Regions from separate parts of the Homo sapiens genome. Here regions 2 and 3 are each linked to region 1. The links are contacts of gene promoters, found by promoter capture Hi-C in blood cells and fetal thymus (Javierre and others, 2016). All regions are on one chromosome and are shown on one strand. Each heading gives the region's core, a stretch centred on a gene start or on the middle of the fragment in contact. The rest is flanking DNA. Distances are from core to core; before and after follow the strand shown. Region 1 holds the start of SERP2 (stress associated endoplasmic reticulum protein family member 2). Region 2 has its middle 14 kb from the start of SMIM2-AS1. Region 3 has its middle 31 kb from the start of NRAD1.

Region 1 (3,357 bases), core at 682-3,181:
GACCTTTACTTTTCATTTTCTATCCTATTTCTGTTTGACTATTTACTGTGTAGATGTAGTCTACTCATAATTAAAACAAACTAATTTAAAATGCCGGAAAAGTGAAGCATAGCAGGAAAAAGGAGTCAACAGTAAAGAAAAATTTTCCCCAAAAGGGGCTTCTCTCAGTTAAGAACACTTCTGAACTGTACTCACTGAATGTGAAGACCCAAAGAGAAAACAGTCTCTGTCTGTGTCTTTTCCTTAATGTCGCTCAGAGCCAGACCTCTACTCACCTGGTGAGGACCTGGGTCAGTCTCCTGGTATTTGGACATGATCTGAGAGGAGTGAGTCAGGTAAAGGAACCTTCTGGACCACAGACAACAGCCAGGCTCAGCAGGGATCACTGAGGTAGGAATCCCCCCACCCAAACCCCTAAAAAAGAGCCAACAGTTATTAAAAACATGGGACTAGAGTGGGGCAGACTGGGTTTATGGTCCTGTTACAACAGTGGTGATGCTAACAGTTAAAAGACCATAGAAGCTTGTTTCAAATTAATTGGCCTGTAGAGTAGGAAAAAAAAAAAATGACTCTACTAATGATCCTAGGCAATTCTGTCTTCTAGGTTACAGCAAGCAGCCCCCAGAATGGCCTTTATTGAAGCCTGAGTGACAAGAAGCCTGTAGCGGGGTGAGGGGGACCCGCTTGGAAAAAGGCCCCAAAAGAGGAGCTCTTCCTAACTCTCCAATGACATGGGAAAATTTTACTCACACAAAATTCCCTGGAAACCCAGCCACCTCCCGCTCCAAGAGAAGGCCTAGAGATGCAGTGGCCAGAGACAGCCTCAGGCCTTCTTCCCCATGCTGGGGGTGCTGCTGCTTGCCTTCACCCCGACCCGGTATCCCCACTTCCCGCTGCCCCAGATCTCCCAGGCTGAATGTCCCCTCTTCGCCTCCACTCTTCTGAGCTTCTAAGAGCTAACTCCAAGTGAGGAACTGAACCCCTTCCACCCCTACCTCCCCAGGCAATCTGTAGAGCTCTTGAGCCCTAATACCAGTGTCTGGGAGGCGCGTAAACGCTTCCATTTTTATCCTTCCACTGCAGAAAATGCCCAGTTTAGTCTGGGAGACACTCAGACCCCTCGGGACAAGGGTGGCTAGAGAGAGGTCCAAGCTGCCCTGGGTGGGTGGGGAGTCAAGGCAGGCCAAAGCTTCAGATTTAGACAGTAACCACCAAATCCGACCTGGGCTGCAGGTCCAAGGCCTCTTCCTCTTTCCTGCATGCTCCGCTCTGCCGCTGGCCCATCTTCCAATGCAACCCCTACAACTACCAAAGCAAAAAGGCCTGTCCCAACTCCATCCTCACGGCCCGATCCCCAACCCTCAGGGGATGCCGCTTCGTGTCTCCTCTTTATTTTACAACGCGGCCCTCCTTGCAGCCCTCACGAAAAGTTCTGCAGTGGGGTCCCCCAGCGTGGGGCCCTTCTCGAGACCCTTAAAGAGAAGGCTCGTTTGGTGGACCATACCCGGGCAGCGCGGGCCCGGGCCTGGACTGGTTCTACTTGTGTTCTGAGGTCCCTGACCACCGCCTTGGGTCCAGCCCTCGTCCAGGGGGCGGCGGTGCAGGGGAGACCGCGCGGCCCGGCCTGAAGCGCGGCCGCCCTCATCCCTTCCCCGGGGCTGGGGTGGGTCACCGGCCGACAAACACAGGAGGGGCCGCGTCCCCGTCCCCGACGCGCTCACAAACGCCGTGGTCGCCCGAACCTTCGGCCCCGCAGCATTCGGCTACAGGACCGCGACACTGCAGGGCCCCGGCTCTGCGCGCTGCGCTCCGGCCGCTCGGCGCGGGAGGACGTGCGGTCGCGCCTGCCTCGGTGGCCGCGCGGGGTAGGTGGCTGCGGGGACCGGAAGGATGGCGAGGAAGTCGGAAAGGGTTTCCTGAGATGAGAGATTACTTCCGTCCGGGCTGCGGCCTCTCTCTGGAGTCGGCTAGCCGGGGCTCGGGGAGCGGGGTGCGCAGGGCTCGGGGCCACGCCTTGCCACCTGCAGCGCCCGGGTGGGCCGCGGGGGCCTCGGCGGGACGCGCTCGGCCCTGTCGCAGGAGCTAACGCAGGGGGAATCCTTGCAGGTGGGAGCATTTCAGAGCGCACAAGCCATGGTGGCCAAACAGCGGATCCGGATGGCTAACGAGAAGCACAGCAAAAACATCACCCAGAGGGGGAACGTAGCCAAAACCCTGGTAAGGCGGGGTCGGCGCCGGCCAGGCAGAGCCCTGCAGCCCGGCGGGGTGGGGCGGAAGGTGGGGGCGGGGCCGGGCGGGTAGCGGCGCAGGGTCCGGCCTCCCGGCTCCCGGCCCGCCCCTTCTGCGGGGTCCTGCAGAGTGGGGGCTGAGAGCTGGGTTCAGGGCGGCGCGGTCTGCTTGGCGTCCTCGTGGGCGGAGAGGGCCCTGGTTGGTCGTGGCCCCTCTGGGAGTGGCTACCTGGGCTACCAGGGAGGCGCAGAGGAGCCCTCCTCCCCGACCCGCACCCCCTGTCCCCCTGCCCGGGAGACAGCTGGGCCTTGTCCCGGAGAAAGACGGAAAGCCTCATCCTTAGGGGCCAGTTAAGTCAACTGCATGACACAGAGCCTGGAACCTAGTATGTTCTAGAACGTTGCATGACACAGAGCCTGGAACCTAGTATGTTCTAGAACGTTTGTTGAATGAATGAATGAATCAATGGCTAAATGGAGGCCACTTGTCATCTCCTCCCGGACTCCACCTGTCTTCCCTCCCCAACAGACTTGCACCAGGATCAAGTTTTCTTTCCAGCCCCTTTGTGACGGTTTCACTGGAGGTGTGGAAAGAGCTCAAAATGGGGAGTGAGATTTGGACCCACATTCCCTCCAGCCTCTTTTTTCTCTTTTACCTCTCTTCCAGCGAGACCTCCCTCAGCCCCTAGGCTAAAGTCTAAGGGCAGCATTCCTATTCTTTCCACTTGGTGAATTCAGACTCATTCTCATGGTATAACTTTAGAGACCAGTTTATTGTCAGGCATTCGGTGTCCCTAGAACTGTAAATTCAAGCTTTGCAACTGGACTTTTAAGTAAAACCTGTGCCTTACACTCAGGAGTTTCTTTTAGCAAAGCAGATTATCATCAACAGAAAATGCGAGGCCTGTGACTTTGGACATTCAGAGGCATGAGTCGCATGGGTAGTTTGGCGAAGTTGGTCTCCAAGTATATGAGCAAAGGCGCCTGGGATCTGTTACCCCGTACAGTTAAGTGGAAATCCAGCTGAAGCCTGGAGTTTGGCTGGGAAAGCTTGCAGATTTGATGAATCAATTCCTTTTAGCCAAAGAAACTATATTGGTTTGATTAACTAAGCAAAAAGCTAGATCTG
Region 2 (2,968 bases), core at 443-2,942, 280 kb before region 1:
TCCAGCCTGGGCAAAAGAGTGAAACTCTTGTCAAAAAAAAAAAAACCCACAAAAAAGCAACAAACAAACAAACAAACAAACAAACAAAAAACAAGGCTTTAGAAAAGGAAAGAACACTTGGAAGAACGTGAAGTGGGTGATGTGAAGAACAAGACTTAGATTATTCCAGATTGTGGGTGAACAACAAGTGTGGTGTTTAACCATGATCCTAGGACTTTATAGGCTGCCATCTTGCATCCCTTTCCCGTGATTTTTCTCTTGAGGTGAGCTGCCCACATGTGTAGTACCCTCCTTACCCTTGGGAAGTGAGCACACACAGGGTGTTTAGGAAGTTGTATGCATGGCCATCTGAGGCTTTCTTCCCTTTTCTAGTGGAGTGCCCCCAGAAGGTCATATTCTACCATTTTGTCTCTTAATGCGTATGCCCAGGAAGTTGCTTCTCCCTGACATCGGCATTCAATGAACACTTTAATGTTAACAGCTGTGGATCAGCTGGAGACTGTCTCTCCCCGGCTCTGGCCACATTTTTTAGAGAGGCAGTATGATAATTGTTGAACCATCACCTGACATTCCTAGTGGGTGGCAGAGAAAAGCCCTGTCTTGCCTCCCTCATGTCTATGTCTAACTACCTGCAACAAGAAGATAAAACGAGACCCCCAATGTCTTTGTTTCTGCTGACTGATAGCATCTTCAGACAGAACCATCCTTAGGCACATGCATTTTTACTATGAATGGTATATTAGGAATCGGGAGAGAATACAAGCTGAAGATGTAGAATGGGGACTTGTGACTTCAATAGAAAAGAATTGCTTCCATTTTTTAACATTGGGGGTTAGGATAGTTTTGCTTCTGTAGTATGTGCAACTGGGCTGTCAAGCCCAGTTGATTATTCCAGATTGTGGGGGAGAAGGAGGTCTTTACTTCCAAGAATTGTCTGAAAAACAGAGAACTCTCCCTGGAACATGATTTTTTAAAAGCCTTCTAGAAGGAAAAGACCTCTTTGGTGACATCAAAGGGCTTCCTCATTCTAATCCATAAAGAAGTTCAGTTGAAGTGAATAGAAGTTCCTCCATGGTCTGAGATTGTAACATTACTTTTTTTTCTCAACTATGTAGAAAGCAAAAAGTGATAATTTGGATTCTTTAATTTTTTAAGCACAAAAGTACTAAGTGCAGTGTTTCCTGACCCTTGCCTCTGAGTGGGTTAACGAGGTGAGGGCACTGGTGAGAAGGAGGTATATAGATTACTGTCTGTGACCAGGAAGTTCTCCATTCTGATAAGGCTGAATTTGATCATTCTATTAATAAATGCTGAAGTCTGGAATATGTCTTCTATTGTCCTATATTTGTTAAAATTGTTCATCTGTGCTCTCTTTCTACTCATGAAAATGACAGTGAAAAATAGCTGTCCATTAACACAAAAGCAAAATGTAATGCAGTAATGATGCTTGAAGCTTCCTGCAATGTTAGAGTTTTTAGAAATCATTAATAATAAATTACCAGCAATGCAACGGGCAGCTGATAACTCCTTTCTTTGGTAGGTAAAACTCTCCATTATAAAATAATAATACACTAAGTCATACGCCATAGCCTTCAGCAATTTTCTTAAAGTTATTTTACTTTAAGACCAGTGTTGCCAACATTGAATTCATTTTACAGATAAGGAAACTGAGGCTATTTTACCCAATGATAATGTCGGAATGAGTCAGACTATTGTAATTGAAATCACTAGCTTAGTTCCAGATTTAAATTAAGGCCTCTCACATATTTGTAAATGTGACAGGCACCAGTAGAGATCATTGGTTAATGAGTGGAGGTTGGAGTGGAGATAGGGTTCCATTAATCACAAACTCTAGGCCATAGTTCTCAATGTGTGGTTTGGGGCCATATGAGGAGTAAGAAAATGTACTCTTGGAGGAAAGGAAACAAACACAAAGCTTGCAAACAGGATGGCAAAACACTCTCGAGTCAAAGACCCTTGTTTATCAGCTCAAGGGCTCAATATTCAGTTATCAGTGTGTAGCAGGGTCCAAGGCATGCAGCAAGTCCAAACATGCTCTGAGATGCTTCTCTCCTCTCATTTCCCTTAGTTCCATTCAGCAATTATCCAAGAACCTGATGGCTTCCTCTTTATGACAGAGTCTGCAAGAATACAAAAAGGAAATAAAAATGGCCATCCAATTCACAGAGCCCACATCCAATTTCCAGAGCCCACAAAGAGGAACTTCATGAAGGATAGTTCTGTCTGGTGCTATCATCCAAGACTTTATCTTTGTAATATGTGAAATCAGTCTGTTAGATAAAGATTAGCTCACACACTCAGTTTTTTTTCTGAAGAAGAACTTGTAGGAAGGTGAATTCTAAAATACAAATTGTGTGACTTTTGGCAGGACACTTCCCTCTGTGCCTTTGCTTCCTTATAGATAATGGGAGGTGGAAGGATTAAAATAAGTCAGGATCCTAAATCACTGGCCCACCAGAGAGCAGTGGCTTAAGCACAATAGCTTAAGTTCCTCCCTGCTTCAAAATTTGTTGGTGCTTTTATGTTAAGCAGCATTGATATTAAGCAGTCATGGTTCATTGTTCCACCCAGTTCTAGGCTAGATATATATAGCCTGATACTTTATAGACTTCTAAGGGATGATCCTCAAACACATCAGAAATATAAGAAACCATAGAAATAAGTTCCTGAACATCTACCACTGCTTACGAAATAGTTGTAAATCATTTGTCTCCAACTATATTCTTCATATAGTTATAAAATTCAGGACTCTATTCCAAGTGAGGAAGCAGATCTTCTCTTCAGTTCTGCAACTGTTGAAACTTTAGGTAGACTCAATAATAATGACTTAGGGCAAAACCTTAAAATTCAAGCTCTTTTAAGGAAGAACACATAATTTTAACCACATAAACAATCTTACAATCCTCATTCAGATCAGATACCATAACACTTTCTTATCAGACCTTAA
Region 3 (3,385 bases), core at 433-2,932, 320 kb before region 1:
AGCCAACACAAAGAAGAGTCTGAATTCTTAGAGCTGGTGAATGTTTAACATCTTGGCATTGTTCAGGGTTGCCCAAGTTTATTTAGTAAGTTCTTAAATAAATGGAGAAGAATGTTTTATTACTCTCATATAAATGGATTTAAAAGAGAGATCTAAAAAAGACAGTTTGTTTCAGCCAGAAAACAACTTCATTCATATTCTCATTGGTATTTCTCTCATCCATATCTAAAAACCAAAGCACTTCTCATGGATTTACATAGTCTGTCTTTTGAGATAAATGGTCATTAGATGACAATTTAGAGAGAAAAGGAGTGAGGTGAAAGAGATTGTTTTGAGAGTATCCTTTTTAGGCAATAACATGCATACTAGGAATGAAAAATTAATTTTAAGACAGTGGTTTTAAGATTTCTTAATCCATATTTGAGTAGTATATTTTAGGAAGTATATACACACATATGATATTTTACTGCACAGCCTCTGGGTTTTCTGAGGCCCTGGCTTAACCCTTTTCTAGTTGCCATGGCTACGAGGACACAAATACAACATCCATACCATGAGCTGGATCTATGAGGAAGAATTTCCAACTGTATACATAGTATGTGTATTTGACCCAAGCTTTTCAGAAAGAATTTGACACAATTTTAAATGTAGTAAATTGTCTGTGTGAGTCATACAATGGAAATAGCGTATGCAGCTAGGAAAATGTAGTCTCATAAATGAACCAAGGGGAAAATAACATTGGAACCCCGTTCTCTCTAAAACCTCCATCTTGCCTTCCCTCATCTCTTCCTGATGTAAAGAATGTCATAGAAAACTTGAAGAAAATCATTCTAAGCTTTTATTTTTTTCTTTTTAAAGTTCAAGCCTAAAATAAATGATTATTTTCAAGCAAATCATAAATCTGTAATCTGAGATACTGGTCTTGCAAAAACACTTCAACGCTTCCAATTACTGGCTGTAAACTGCTTTTCTAAAAACCCTCTTAAATGTTCACTCTGCATTCTGAAAGAAGAACACAGACTGAAATTTCATCGCCATTTGCTCTGATTCCTAACTAAGGTGCTCCTCACACAGAATCTCCAGGAAGCAGAGATGGATGGGTAGATTTTACAATGGAGAGAGGACCGGTCCACTCTCAAAGTTCCATCCTGGACATTGAATAGCATCTTGGGAGGAACCAAAATGGGATCCCACTCTGGGTAAGACATGATAACACCAGCAGTGAGATTCCTGTGGATAGGGGAGTTTTCTTGGGCAGGGGTGAAGAGATACAGAAGAAAAGCAGGGAAGTGTGAATGCTAGGGATACAAAGAGAAGCCCCGGCAGGGAGCCTCACACAGATGCTTAATAAATGCTTTTTGATTTGACTGAATGATCAAAGTGTGGTGTTAGCGTCAAGCAGTCTTAGCACCATCGCATATAAATGCCTTTGGCAATCCACATGTCGGTTTATCTGGGGGCGGGGGTCAGGCTGTCGGAAGGGATGCTGTGCCCTTGCTTGATGTGAGTGGGCAGCCAGGGCCAGCCGTGGGAAGGGATTGAATCGTGGCGTCCTGTTCTTGCAACAGCCACATTCCTCATCGGAAGCTTGTACTGAGTGTTTGTCCTGCAAGCAGGAGCAGTCTGGGTGCATTTTTGAGATTCTGTGGGAGTTGCTGCAACTCAGACCCTCGGTTTTCTGATGTCCAAAAGAAGGGCGATAGTAAACAAGTAATAAGTAATAGTATTTGTTTATGTACATAACTTAACTCATAAAATCGTGCGATGATTTTAAAAAAAAGCTTTAAACAGCAGATATAAAAAGATAAGGTCCTTTTCATCAGAGGGTCCTGCTAGAATCTTTTCAGGAGGTAGGAGGCGGCATAGCTGAGTGGAAAGAATGTTGACCTGATGGGCCAGAGAAACAAATTCATTTCCCAGTTGAGCATAAACAGTTGTGAGACCTTGAGCCTCTCAGCCTTTCTGGGTTCCAACTTTCTCATCTGCAAATTTAAGGTGCTGGTCTAGAAGATCTTCCACTTCATGTTTTATTATCCTACAGAGAATTAAGAAAGGAATTGAGAGCCTAGTTTCCCTGGGGAGGTCAGTTTTACTTCTGAGGCCCTCAGATAGCCCTCTAGACGTCTGGCTAAAGGACAGAGGCATTTACATTCACATTTTCAGGTTGTATTTGGGAAATCGGACTAAGGAACAATACATTTCACATGCTCAGAAGCACAACCCCAGGTTAAGAAGGAGAGGAAGGCACTGCCTTACAGCAAACATCCACCTTATCTCGACCCCTAACCTCTCCTGGCCACATACCCCTGTCTAGATGAGCCACTCGGGATGGCCAGTGACCAAATAGCATGTGCAAAAGGAGTGGGGACTGGTGGGTAGTGGGGAGGAGAAAGAGAGAAAAGACTTTTCTGGACCCGTGGTAAATATGATTTCCTTGGTACTGAATGGAAAAGAATAAGCACTGCTTTTGATTACTCAAGTCCAACTTTCAAGAGTTTCAACAACTTCAGTGGGAAAAAGTATGCATATGTGTGTATGTATGTAATGTATGTATATATGTGTGTATATGCATATACATGCACAGACATATGTATACACAACACATAAATACATATGTGTGCAAAGCATATATATATACACATACACCTGTATGTTTATAAATTTATATTAAAAATCTTAGGAATGGCCTCATCTTCTCACCAGTGGTCTCTTCTCTCTGTTTCTACATCTTAGTCTCTCCCCATAAGACATATACCCAGTGAAATTCAGACTGAAATGTACAGAACTCTCTTCTAGATATTCTTCTTGGTGCAAACACTCCCTCGGTCCATATCCCTGTCCTTGTGCCCCCATCATCATAAAAAACAGGGACAGAATTTGAGAATTCTAACAGTTTGGGAAACTGTAAATGCCCACCCTTTTTGCATTTGCCACTGTTTCCATGACAAATTTTTTTCTCAGGAGAAAAGAACATTTCTAAAAGATCAAAATTAAATCACTTTGCAGACTCAAAAAAGGATGGTGGCTCTGGGGAAGTATTAACATGAAATAACACTATTTGTATCTAAAATCATTTATACCATGCATAAAATTCTCCCAGCATTTCAAATTTGCTAAGTTTAAAGTTCAGTCTTCTTCTTGTGTGTTTCTTTCTATTGGCACAGAATACAAAAGGGAGAATAGCTTTTGAACTCTCCGGTGATGTAACAAAATCTGATTTCATTGATGAGGATCATTGCTGAGTGAGGTATTTTGTGCTGAAAAAGTAATTGCTAGTTTGACATAGAGAAGCCATATCTATATCTACACAAATGCATATATAGAATGAGTAATATACAGATGTGTGTATTTATGTATATCTGTGTGGATAGATAGATTGATAGAT

The links. The method cuts DNA at HindIII sites, captures the fragments that hold promoters and counts their contacts. A CHiCAGO score of 5 or more calls a contact.
Region 2: a contact is called between a fragment that was not itself captured here and the fragment with the promoter of SERP2 in region 1, in 2 of 17 cell types (naive CD8 T cells and total CD8 T cells). The highest score is 5.8, in naive CD8 T cells.
Region 3: a contact is called between a fragment that was not itself captured here and the fragment with the promoter of SERP2 in region 1, in 10 of 17 cell types (naive B cells, total B cells, fetal thymus and 7 more). The highest score is 8.6, in naive B cells.

Annotation. Positions count from the first base shown.
Region 1 is chr13:44,371,893-44,375,249 of GRCh38, forward strand. It overlaps SERP2 (stress associated endoplasmic reticulum protein family member 2), which reads left to right and starts at 1,932. Exons shown (of 3, transcript NM_001010897.3): 1 at 1,932-2,217. The coding sequence starts at 2,134. It overlaps LOC105370297 (a long non-coding RNA gene), which reads right to left and starts at 1,674. Exons shown (of 2, transcript XR_001749858.3): 1 at 1,505-1,674; 2 at 1-1,305. The HindIII fragment of the contact is 1,852 bases long and covers 1,188-3,039 here.
Region 2 is chr13:44,094,934-44,097,901 of GRCh38, forward strand. No RefSeq gene overlaps it. Among named protein-coding and RNA genes, the nearest start is that of SMIM2-AS1, 14 kb to the right of the region's middle. The HindIII fragment of the contact is 483 bases long and covers 1,452-1,934 here.
Region 3 is chr13:44,051,538-44,054,922 of GRCh38, forward strand. No RefSeq gene overlaps it. Among named protein-coding and RNA genes, the nearest start is that of NRAD1, 31 kb to the left of the region's middle. The HindIII fragment of the contact is 194 bases long and covers 1,586-1,779 here.